3 separate regions of the Homo sapiens genome follow, and all the other regions are linked to region 3. The links are contacts of gene promoters, found by promoter capture Hi-C in blood cells and fetal thymus (Javierre and others, 2016). All regions are on one chromosome and are shown on one strand. The core of a region is centred on a gene start or on the middle of the fragment in contact, and the rest is flanking DNA. Distances in the headings are between cores, read along the strand shown. Region 1 has its middle 40 kb from the start of LINC02422. Region 2 has its middle 65 kb from the start of BICD1. Region 3 holds the start of RESF1 (retroelement silencing factor 1).

Region 1 (3,466 bases), core at 446-2,945, 110 kb after region 3:
AAAGGGAAAGGAGAGAGAGAAAAGCCTTGCCTGTGGCAGGATGGGGAAGGTGAAGATCTCAGGGAGTTGAGAGAAAGACCCACCCATTCCAGCAACACTGAATCAAAAGTTCAGGTGGCCGCTTGTCAGCTGTGAAGGGATATTTTTCAGCAGTCCCATCAGCTCTCAAGTTTCCCCTTTTAGGGAAGAAAAAGCTCCCCATGTCCCACGATCCTGTTCATGCCTAATCCTGTCACCCATAGCTGTCAGCAAAGAGTGCAAGGCAGATTATTTGAAAGAGAATAGCAGTTAATAGTGTCAAACCCATTCTTAGCCAAGAAGGACTTTACTGAGAGAGGCCTCTAACTCCCTAAATCTTAGAAGGGATAACTCTTCTAATTTGGGCCTCTAACCCAAGGTTGGTTAAGCGTTCTTGCCTTTTATTAAGATGAGTCTCTAACCCACTCTGTTTCAGGAGAGACTCTAACTCCCCTAAGTTGCACCTCTAACCCAATCCCATCCTTTACTTGGGTACCCCAATTACCCAAAGTTGGCCAATTAGTGCTGCAGTCTGTTTCCTTTGGGTTGAGAAGTATTTTCAGTATTGTCCCACTTGTGGTTCATGAGAAAGATGTTATCAGACCCCAACACTTAACCAAAGTTAGCCTTTGAGTTGGGAGTTTCCACACTATAGTCCCCTCTGGGTCGTCAGAAAGATGTTACTGGAAAGGGGTTCCAATCCAGACCCCAAGAGAGTGTTCTTAGATCTTGCACAAGAAAGAATTCAGGGCACATTCATAGAATAAAGTTAAAGCAAGTTTATTAAGAAAGTAAAGGAATAAAAGAATACTCCATAGACAGAGCAGCCGGCTGCTGGTTGCCCATTTTTATGGTTATTTCTTGACGATATGCTAAACAAGGGGTGGATTATTCATGCCTCCCCTTTTTAGGGCCGGGCACGGTGGCTCATGCCTGTAATCCCGCACTTTGGGAGGCCAAAGCAGGCGGATCATGAGGTCAGGAGATCGAGACCATCCTGGCTAACATGGTGAAACCCGTCACTACTAAAAATACAAAAATTAGCCAGGCATGGTGGTGGGCGCCTGTAGTCCCAGCTACTCTGGAGGCTGAGGCAGGAGAATGGTGTGAACCCAGGAGTTAGAGCTTGCAGTGAGCCGAGATTGCGCCACTGCACTCCAGCCTGGGTGACAGAGCAAGACTCCGTCTCAAAAAAAAAAACAAAACAAAACAATAACAACAACAACAAAACACATACATACCAAAACCAAATGGCTTACAACAAGAATTCCTTTTTTTTTTTTTTTTTAGGAGTCTTGCTCTGTTGCCCAGGCTGGAGTGCAGTGGCGTGATCTCAGCTCACTTCAGCCTCTGCCTCCCGAGTAGCTGGGATTATAGCATGCACCAACATGCCCAGGTAATTTAAGAATTTATTTTTCTTTTATTTTGAGATGGAGTTTCACTCTTGTTGCCCAGGCTGGAATGCAATGGTGCCATCTCAGCTCACCACAACTTCTTCCTCCTGGGTTCAAGCGATTCCCCTGCCTCAGCCTCCCGAGTAGCTGGGATTACAGGCATGCACCACCCGCCTGGCTAATTTTGTATTTTTAGCAGAGATGGAGTTTTTCCATGTTTGTCAGGCTGGTCTCGAATTCCTGACCTCAGGTGATCCACCTGCCTCAACCTCCCAAAGTGCTAGGATTACAGGCATGAGCCACCATGCCTGGCCAAGAATTTATTTATCTTACTGGCAGATCTGCAGGTCAGCTGATAATTGTGCCTCAGACTGACACTCAGATGCCTAGGCTCTGGGGTTCAGGTTGTGCTCATATCTGTTTCCTGAGTCTTATTCTGGGACCCAGGCTGAAGAAGCAGTGCTGGTGGGACATGTTGTTCTTATGAACAATGGCAGGACTAGGAGAGCTATGTCAAACCAAGAGCCAAGTCAAACATATTCAAGGTCTCTCTCCTGTCTTTCCATTAGTAGTACATTTGCCAGAGCAAGTCACAGGGCCAGGCCCAAGAAGTATAATCTTCCCACAGTAGAAGGGAGAGGGGAGTGGATATTCATTGAACAATAAGCCAAACTACTGATCAACCTATCAATCATGCTCATGTTATTAGGTTGGTGTACAGATCTTACATTGGTATTTTGGTTGTACTTACATCGATGTTATCCATACACAAGAAATTACATATATATTCTCTCTTCACTCCCTTTTCAACACATAAGGTAACATTCAATACAAATACCTAATGTAACAGGTCATCTTTAAAATAAATTGTTTCCTGCCAGCAGAGGTGTGCTAAATCATCATCATCATCATCATCATCATCATCATAATTTATGAGAGATTTGGGGCTTTCCCACCTTCTTCTTTAATTCAAGATTGCTGTCCCATACATCATCGATAATTATGCTTTCTGCTGACATAGTCAGATTCAACACTTTAAGTTTGTCACACACATTGTTTTGATATTGAGTGCTTGATTTGGAAATTCTTACAACTGAAAGTGTTGGAAAGGATGAGATTTTTAAAAGGAAAATGAAGGGGAATGTCCAAAAGGAGAAGTTTAAGGGAAAAAAAACTTCAGAGACATTGAGACGACTGTCTGTGAATCTTCAGCACTCCTACATGTTTCGCTCCTGTGTGCCAGGATTATCTTTCTAGGAATGCCTAGTGCAAGCAGGCAGCCCTGGAGAGATAAAGACAAGGACTTCCCCTGAAGCAAATGTATTTACATTCCTAGATAAATAAAGATCAAAACGGTAACTTTCACCGAGAGATTTACAGACATCTTTCCCCAGAAATATTTGCTCACATTCCAGTGTAGAATGTTTCTCTCTGGAAGGGAGGATGGGCAGATTTTCCTGCAGCCCTATGCAAAATGTGAGCCTCCTAAACTCAGACTTCGCCTCCTGTATTGCACCTGAAAGCACCTGTAAGTACCATCTGGCCCTCCCTATGTTGCCTTATGGGAATTGGGGCTCAGGGAACCCAAGCTCTGAAGTCACCTTGGCTGCTGCTTTTACTGTGAATACACGTCTTTGTCTCTGACTCAGAGATCTCCTGTTTTCTAACACGATGTATATAAAAATTTGTGGGCCAGGCGTGGTGGCTCATGTCTGTAATTCCAGCACTTTGGAAGGCCGAGGTGGCTGGATCACCTGAGGTCAAGAGTTCGAGACCAGCCTGGCCAGCATGGTGAAACCTCATCTCTACTAAAAATACAGAAAATTAGTCGGGCATGGTGGCAGACGCCTGTAATCCCAGCTTCTCTGGAGGCTGAGGCAGGAGAATTCCTTGAACCCAGGAGGTGGAGGTTGCAGTGAGCCGAGATCACTGCATTGCACTCCAGCCTGGGCGACAGAGTGAGACTCTGTCTAAAAAAAAAAAAAAAAAATTGTGGCACGGTAACTTGTTAGCTTGCAAGTAGCAGAAAATCTCAGACTTTTCAGTTTCTGACT
Region 2 (3,771 bases), core at 83-2,582, 83 kb before region 3:
GGCAGCTCTAGAAAGCTAATATAGAGTCCCTATGAACGTTTTGGAAAATTGTGGCGCGATCAACAAAAGGGGCTGGGCACAGTGGCTCACGCCTATAATCCCAGCATTTTGGGAGGCTGAGGCCAGAGGATCACTTGAACCCAGGTGTTTGAAATAAGCCTGAGCAACATAGTGAGACCCTGTCTATACAAAAAATACAAAAATTAAGGCTGGGTGCAGTGGCTCATGCCTGTAATCCCAGCACTTTGGGAGGCCAAGGTGGGTGGATTACCTGAGATCAGGAGTTCACGACCAGCCTGGCCAACATGGTGAAACCCCATCTTTACTAAAAATACAAAAAATTGGCCAGGAGTGGTGGCTCACGCCTATAATCCCAGAATTTTGGGAGGTTGAGGTAGGTGGATCACCTGAGGTCAGAAGTTCAAGACCAGCCTGACCAACACGGTAAAACCCCATCTGTACTAAAAATACAAAATTAGCCAGGCGTGGTGGTGGGCACCTGTATTCCCTGTTACTCAGGAGGCTGAGGCAGGAGAATTGCTTGAACCCAGGAGGAGGAGGTTGCCACTGCACTCCAGCCTGGGTGACAGAGTGAGACTCTGTCTCAAAAAATAAAAATAAAAATAAAAATAATTAGTTGGGTGTGGTGGCCTGAGCTTGTAGTCCCAGCTACTCTGGAGGCTGAGGTAAGAGAATCGCTTGAGCCCAGGAGGCAGAGGTTGCAGTGAGCTGAGATTGCACCACTGCACTCCAGCCTGGGTGACAGGGCGAGACTCTGTCTCAAAAAAAAAAGAACAAAAATTAGCTGGGTGTGGTGGAGCACGTGTGTAGTCCAGCTACTCAGAAGGCTGAGGTGGGAGGATCACTGGAGCCTGGGAGGTCAAAGCTGCAGTAAGCCATGATCACGCCACTGCCCTCAAGCCTGGGTGACATAGTAAGACCCTGTCTTAAAAAACAAAACACGAAACAGGCTTGGTGCGGTGGCTCACGCCTGTAATCCCAGCGCTTTGGGAGGCCGAGGCAGTTGGATGGCTTCAGCTCAAGAGTTCAAGACCAACCTAGGAAACAAGGTGAAACTCTGTCTCTACAAAGAATTCAAAAATCTAGCCAGGCATGGTGGTACACTTCTGTAGTCCCAGCTACTCAGGAGGCTAAAGCTGGAGGATCGATTGAGCCAGGAGGTAGTGGCTGCAGTGAGCCACGATCATGCCACTGTGCTCCAGCCTGGGCAACAGAACAAGACACTGTCTCAAAACCAAAAAACAACAAACAACAACAAAAGGGGTGCAATAGGCCAGGTGCTGTGGCTCATACCTATAATCCTAGCACCATGGGAGGCCGAGGCAGGAGGAGCCCTTGAAGCCAGGAGTTCAAGGCCAGCCTGGACAACAAAGCAAGACCCTGTCTCTACCAAATAAACCAAAAGACAAAAAAACAAAATGAAACAAAACAAAAGGGGTGCAACACAGGACCACTGGTGGTGTCAAAGGAAAAATTGCACTGAACAACGTTGAAACTTTAGGCAAAGTTAAACTGCAGGAGGGGAGAGGGCCAGAACTAAGTATGAACTAAACTGCTCATCAGAAGGGATAGGTTTTGTTTGTTTGTTTGTTTGTTTGTTTGTTTTTGAGGCGGAGTCTCTCTCTGTCGCCCAGGTGGAGTGCAGTGGCGGGATCTCGGCTCAGTGCAACCTCTGCCTCCCGGGTTCAAGTGATTCTCCTGCCTCTGCCTCCAGAGTAGCTGGGACTACAGGTGCCCACCACCACGCCCAGCTAATTTTTTGTATTTTTAGTAGAGACGGGGTTTCACTGTGTTAGCCAGGTTGACGTCGATCTCCTGACCTCGTGATCTGCCTGCCTCTGCCTCCCAAAGTGCTGGGATTGCAGGCATGAGCCACCGCACCCGGCCCAGAAGGGATAGGTTTTAAAGGATTGGGTGAATTAGTACTGAAGGACATAAGGGAAGTCACAGGCCATTTGTGTTTGCCGTTGGCTTTTTATAATTTGATGTCTTTATGGGGTACGGAGTGATGTTGTAATATATGTAAACAATGTGAAATTATTAAATCAAGCTAATTAACATACCCATTACCTCAATACTCATCTTTTTTTTTTTTTATTTTTTTAGAGAGACAAGTTTTCACTCTGTTGCCCAGATTGGAGTGCAGTGGCACCATTATAGCTTACTGTAACTTTGAACTCCTGGGCTCAAGCCATCCTCCCACCTCAGCCTCCTGAGTAGCTAAGACTACAGGCACACACCATCACGTCTGTCTAATTTTTTTAATTTTCTATAGAGACAGGGTTTCACTATGTTGCCTAGGCTGGCCTTGAACTCCTGGCCTCAAGTGATCTGCCTGCCTTGGCATCCCAAAACTCTGGGATAACAGGTGTGAGCCACCATGCCCAGCCAATACTCATCATTTTTTTGGTAGGAAGAGCATTTGAAATGTATTCACTTAGCATTTTTGGAATATACAGTACATTATTATTAACTATAGTTCTCATACTGTGCAATAGATCTCAAAAAAATATTCCTCCTGTCTAACTGAAATGTTGTACCCATTGACCAACATTTCCCCATTTCCTCGCTCCCAGCCCCTGGTAACCACCATTTTATTCTCTACTTCTATGAGCTTGATTGTTTTAGATTCCACATACATGTGAGATCCTGCAGTATGTGTCCTTCCCTGCCTGGCTTTTTTTCATTTAGCATAGTTCTCCAGGTTCATCTATGTTGTCGCAAATGGCAGAAATTCCTTTTTTTGAAAGGCTAAATAAAATTCCATTGTGTATTTGCTAGTAGGCTTTCTCCAAAGGAATTATAGCCTCTGCTGTCCTCCATGGGAGATAGCACCAGAAGTGGGCATCTGCCACTGGAAGAGGGTCCTCACCAGAACTTGGCTGTGCTGGGACCCTGCTCTCAGACACGCAGCCTTCAGAACTGTGAGAAATAAATTCTAATTGTTCAAAAATCAACAAAAAGGAGAAATAAACGTATCCTAGCTTTGTGACAAGAGTTAGTTTTGTAACTTAGAGCACGATATCTTGAAACTTGGAGCAAGGCAATTTGGAGTCAGGCTCCTGCTGCCCTCCCACAGAAACAGAGATAAGGATGCTATGTCCTGCTGATTGCATTTCAAAGAAATAGTTCCCAGGTCTTGGAGAAAGACTTTCCTGGGTTGTAAAACTGACAAAGCTTTTTTAAAGATTATGCATCGACTAAAGGTAAAATGACCAAAAAAAAAAAAAAAATTGGCATCTCGAAGTATCAGAGAGAAAATTTACAAGTTTTCTAAAGCAAATGCTCTAAGAAGAGGGAGGTCAGGGGCCTCCCTCAGGAGGAAGCCCGCCTAAAGGGAAACATGAGCTTGTCTTGGTCTTGAATCTTCTACTGCACAAAAGCCCCTATCTGTTATTCACCATATTAATTATTTGGTGATCAAGAAGCAATGTTTTAAACATTTCACAACTGACCAGATGTTTTGTTTTATAAGAATTATATTTAGGTACCTTACCATGCTTTAGTTAACCTTTTAAGAAATTGATTGAGGGTTTGGGGTTGACATAGTATAATTTTTCTGTTTAAAATAAAATAAATAGGCTGAAGGTTAGCATTTTCATGCAGAACAACCAATTTTCAGTAATAGATTACTGATGTTAAGCAGGAGAGGACTACATTTCTAAATTGTTTAATTTTTTTAAATGACAGACCCAAACTTCTTTTCAAAGAACAGCCTCTCTGACAGGTTGATTCAGTGCAGGCGCACTG
Region 3 (3,666 bases), core at 861-3,360:
ACTTGCCATGCATCAGGAGCTGTTTAACTGTGATATGCATGAAACTCATGTAACTCTACCATAACAATCCTATGACATTAGTGCTTGTCCCCATTTTATAGATGAGAGAACAGGCAGAGGTTTATTTTCCAGGGTTGGCTGAGTGCTACAGCCAAGATCTGAACCAAAGCAGTGTGGTTACAGGGACCATGGTCTTAATCATTAGGTGAGACTTCCTAACACACTTTGTGGTTACAGATGAAAGCCCTGGACATGATCACTTTGGCTGCACGGGAAGCATCCTCCCAGAGTGGTGCTCTGCGCCACATTCCCCTATGTGCCACCAACAGTAATAAAATATAATAAAAACAATCAAATAAACACAGCACAGACAGAAGCAGACCTCTGCCCAGGTAACTTCCACCACAATTCCCTTACCAAAGACCTCTTTCCTTATTTTGCTAAGATTAACAACTGATTTTTCAGTACTATGCCAACAACATTTCTTCTCAAGCTTTGCTGTCAATTCCATTGTGACCCACAGTTTAATTTAAAACCGATGTTGATTCACTGAGCTAGTAATTTTATTCGGTAATAGGTGAATTACTCCATAGTTGAGTGTGAATAACCGCCTGGTTAAATCAGGGCGGGTTTCTTAGAGGTGATACACTTACCGTTGAGCACAACTTTACTCTTTAATTATCGTGTACATTCCCATTTCCCTCCAAACACGTCAGTCCCTCTCCACACAGTGTTTACTTCTTTGGTCCTAGGGACAGCAAGAAACATTTTATAATAAAAGAGCACATGCTAATGTGTTTACTAGATATGACACTGCTGTGCAAAACTGTTTTCTTTTATGGCTGCACTGAAAGCATGCTAAGTTTACTGAATTCTTATTAAGTGTCCTAAGTAACAGAAATAGAAACTAGGTCTGGCCTGAAAATACCATTCACTTAAGTTAGAATTTATGTGCGCTCCTCTAGGTCCGCTATTGTAGTATCACTGCAAAACAATAATACTTTATCTCTGCACTTGTCTTTATTGGATTAATATTAAACAGAAAAAAATCCGACTGCACAGGGGAAAAAACCTAAAACCTTAACATGCATGCACATTAACAGTGACTGAAACATGATTAAAGCTAACACATTTAGCAGAAAAATGCAATCCCCAAACAAGCTCTGCGGCCCGCCTACTGAAATGCACCCGCCCGCCACTAAATGAAAATGCGCCTCAAGCTCATACACATCCTTATGTTAAGACAGTATGCACTCGATGTACTACAAATAAATTGTTTTCACGGAAATGATTCCCCGAAAGTTTGCTGCTGAACTCAGGACCCTAAGGACGTTTGCTTAGGGAATCCGTGTCCCTCGAGAACACCTAAGATGGGTATGCGTTTGTGCATTTAAAAATGCCTCAAGGAACTATTGCTGAGGAACAGAAACCATCGCCGGCGCAGAAGCGTTCGCGGACCACTTGGAGATAGATGCCAGTACAGCAATTCTGTTCCAGGAGGCTTCGGCTTAAGAGGGCCGGGGAGGAGGAGAACCCTCGGGAAATAGCAAAAAAAAAAAAAGATTTTTCTTTTTCACTCCAGCGACAGGAAAGCCTTAAAAACATAAGCAGCTCTCATACCCACCCGCCTCACCAGCCGCGCCTCGCAGTTCGACAAAATGCGTCCTAGCCTTCGCCACTCGCGACCTCTACCGCGCAGAGCCAGGCAATGAGGGAAAACAGCCAGCGAGGCCCGCCCTCCGGTGCAAGGCTCGGCATCCGCGGAGGCCCAGGGCCGGCCCCGGTGCGGCGGGCAGAAGCAAGCGCGGCGGCCCGGCCCAGCTCCGGTGGGCGGACGGCGGGACGCGCGAGCCGGCGGGGCCCGAGGCCCGGGTTCCGGGGCCGCCCGCGACTGCGTCTTTGCCGCAGAACAAAAGCGCTCTGCGCCGCGCGCAGGCCCGGACCGCGAGTGCCTCTGGCTCCCGGCTCCCGGCCCCCGCCCCGCCCGGACCCCGGAAGGCGGAGGGACCTCGGGGTGCTCGTCTCACACTTACCGACAAAGGGAAGAGGACCACCCCGGCAAGCGGGGAGAAAACCGGCGGCCTCCCGGGCCCCAGAGTTTAAGTCAAGTGGGGTCCGCCTCCAGGGGCGGGTCGAGGAGCCAGGCCCAGGATCCAGGAACAGCTACGCTCCGCCTCACGCCCGAGGCGGTGGCTGCGAGGGCCGCGCCGCCGCGGTCCTAGTGCCACCAGAGAAGCCGCGGACCCGGCCCGCAGATAACACCCGGGCTTGCAGAGCGCTTTCATCTGCCCGACGCGGAAATCTCCTGCAGCGATCTTCTACCTTCAGCGTGCATCCGCAGCACCCAGAGGGCACGTTAAAGAGAGATTGAGAACCACCAGCAAAACTGCTGATTCAGTAGGTTTGGGGTGGGGCTGAAAAATGTGCATTTCTAACAAGTTCCTGAGACCGACTGTTGCTGCTGGCCTCAGGACCAATTTTTTCTATAAAGCGCATGGAAGTCAGAGTGCACCCAAGAGATTGTTAACCCTTAAAAAACAGAAAAAAAAAAAAGAAATCAACAAGTTAGAGGCAAATAAGTGTGAAAGAAAGTGGATAGTCTATTTGGGGATTCTGAAAGTCCCTGAGGAAAGTTGACTTTGGAGACCAGATCACGAAGCACGACCTCTTAATTGCCGACCTTTTGTTATAGATTAACTCCCTTATTTTCTTGTTCCCAGCTCAGACCAGATGGCATCTGAGATAAAATACGCATTGAATAAGATAAATGACCGCTTGACTATTACATCCTTAATGTGGAATGTTAAATAGACCCTTCCCAAAAAGAAACACTGCCTTGAACCAATCAAATTGCTATGCGTTAACCTTCTATGGAAAATGTTGACATCCTGTTAAGCTTCCCAGACCCTGCCTGTGTAAACGACCCTCAAACTTCTCCCTTTCGAAGCACTGACCCCCATCTTTTGGAGTCTGTGTCCTACCGGGTCGCCATCCTCAAACTTTGCACTCAAATAAACCAATATTTAATCATATTGCCCGAATCTCATTATTAAGGTTTACGTAAGCGTTTACTTAGTAATGAAGGTTGCAACCAGGATGGCAAATCAGAGATTGTGCCACTGGAGAGGGGCAAGGGAGCTTATGTTTATAGGAATTTATTTGTTACATAAATTGTCAGATTAGTTCATTGGTGAATTAAACGAAGAAGTCTTTAGTCATTACTAGAAGAGTGCGTTTGCGTCTGTCAGAAACAAAACAAAAAAACTACATACAGAATATTCTTTCTTTTTTGGGGGGGGGACGGAGTCACGCTCTGTCGCCCAGGCTGGAGTGCAGTGGCACGATCTCGGCTCACTGCAAGCTCCGCCTCCCAGGTTCACGCCATTCTGCTGCCTCAGCCTCCCAAGTAGCTGGGACTACAGGCGCCCGCCACCATGCCCGGCTAATTTTTTGTATTTTAGTAGAGACGGGGTTTCACCATGTTAGCCAGGATGGTCTCGATCTCCTGACCTCTTGATCCGCCCGCCTTAGCCTCCCAAAGTGCTGGGATTACAGGCATGAGCCACCGCGCCCGGCCAGAATATTCTTAAAGATTGGGGGTGGCCAGGTGTGGTGGCTCAGGCCTGTAACCCCAGCACTTTGTGTCACGCGCATCCGTGTGAAGAG

The links. Contacts are between HindIII fragments. The CHiCAGO score rates a contact against its expected background, and 5 or more counts as called.
Region 1: a contact is called between a fragment that was not itself captured here and the fragment with the promoter of RESF1 in region 3, in 4 of 17 cell types (neutrophils, non-activated CD4 T cells, total CD8 T cells and 1 more). The highest score is 10.9, in neutrophils.
Region 2: a contact is called between a fragment that was not itself captured here and the fragment with the promoter of RESF1 in region 3, in 2 of 17 cell types (erythroblasts and naive CD4 T cells). The highest score is 7.7, in erythroblasts.

The regions. Positions count from the first base shown.
Region 1 is chr12:31,845,084-31,848,549 of GRCh38, reverse strand. No RefSeq gene overlaps it. Among named protein-coding and RNA genes, the nearest start is that of LINC02422, 40 kb to the left of the region's middle. The HindIII fragment of the contact is 8,229 bases long and covers 1-3,466 here.
Region 2 is chr12:32,039,694-32,043,464 of GRCh38, reverse strand. No RefSeq gene overlaps it. Among named protein-coding and RNA genes, the nearest start is that of BICD1, 65 kb to the left of the region's middle. The HindIII fragment of the contact is 3,737 bases long and covers 1-3,200 here.
Region 3 is chr12:31,957,859-31,961,524 of GRCh38, reverse strand. RESF1 (retroelement silencing factor 1) reads right to left here and starts at 2,110. Exons shown (of 6, transcript NM_018169.4): 1 at 2,034-2,110; 2 at 654-748. LOC105369725 (a long non-coding RNA gene) reads left to right here and starts at 2,221. Exons shown (of 2, transcript XR_931503.2): 1 at 2,221-2,397; 2 at 2,721-3,032. RefSeq lists a silencer at 1,800-2,139 and an enhancer at 3,192-3,666. The HindIII fragment of the contact is 2,403 bases long and covers 496-2,898 here.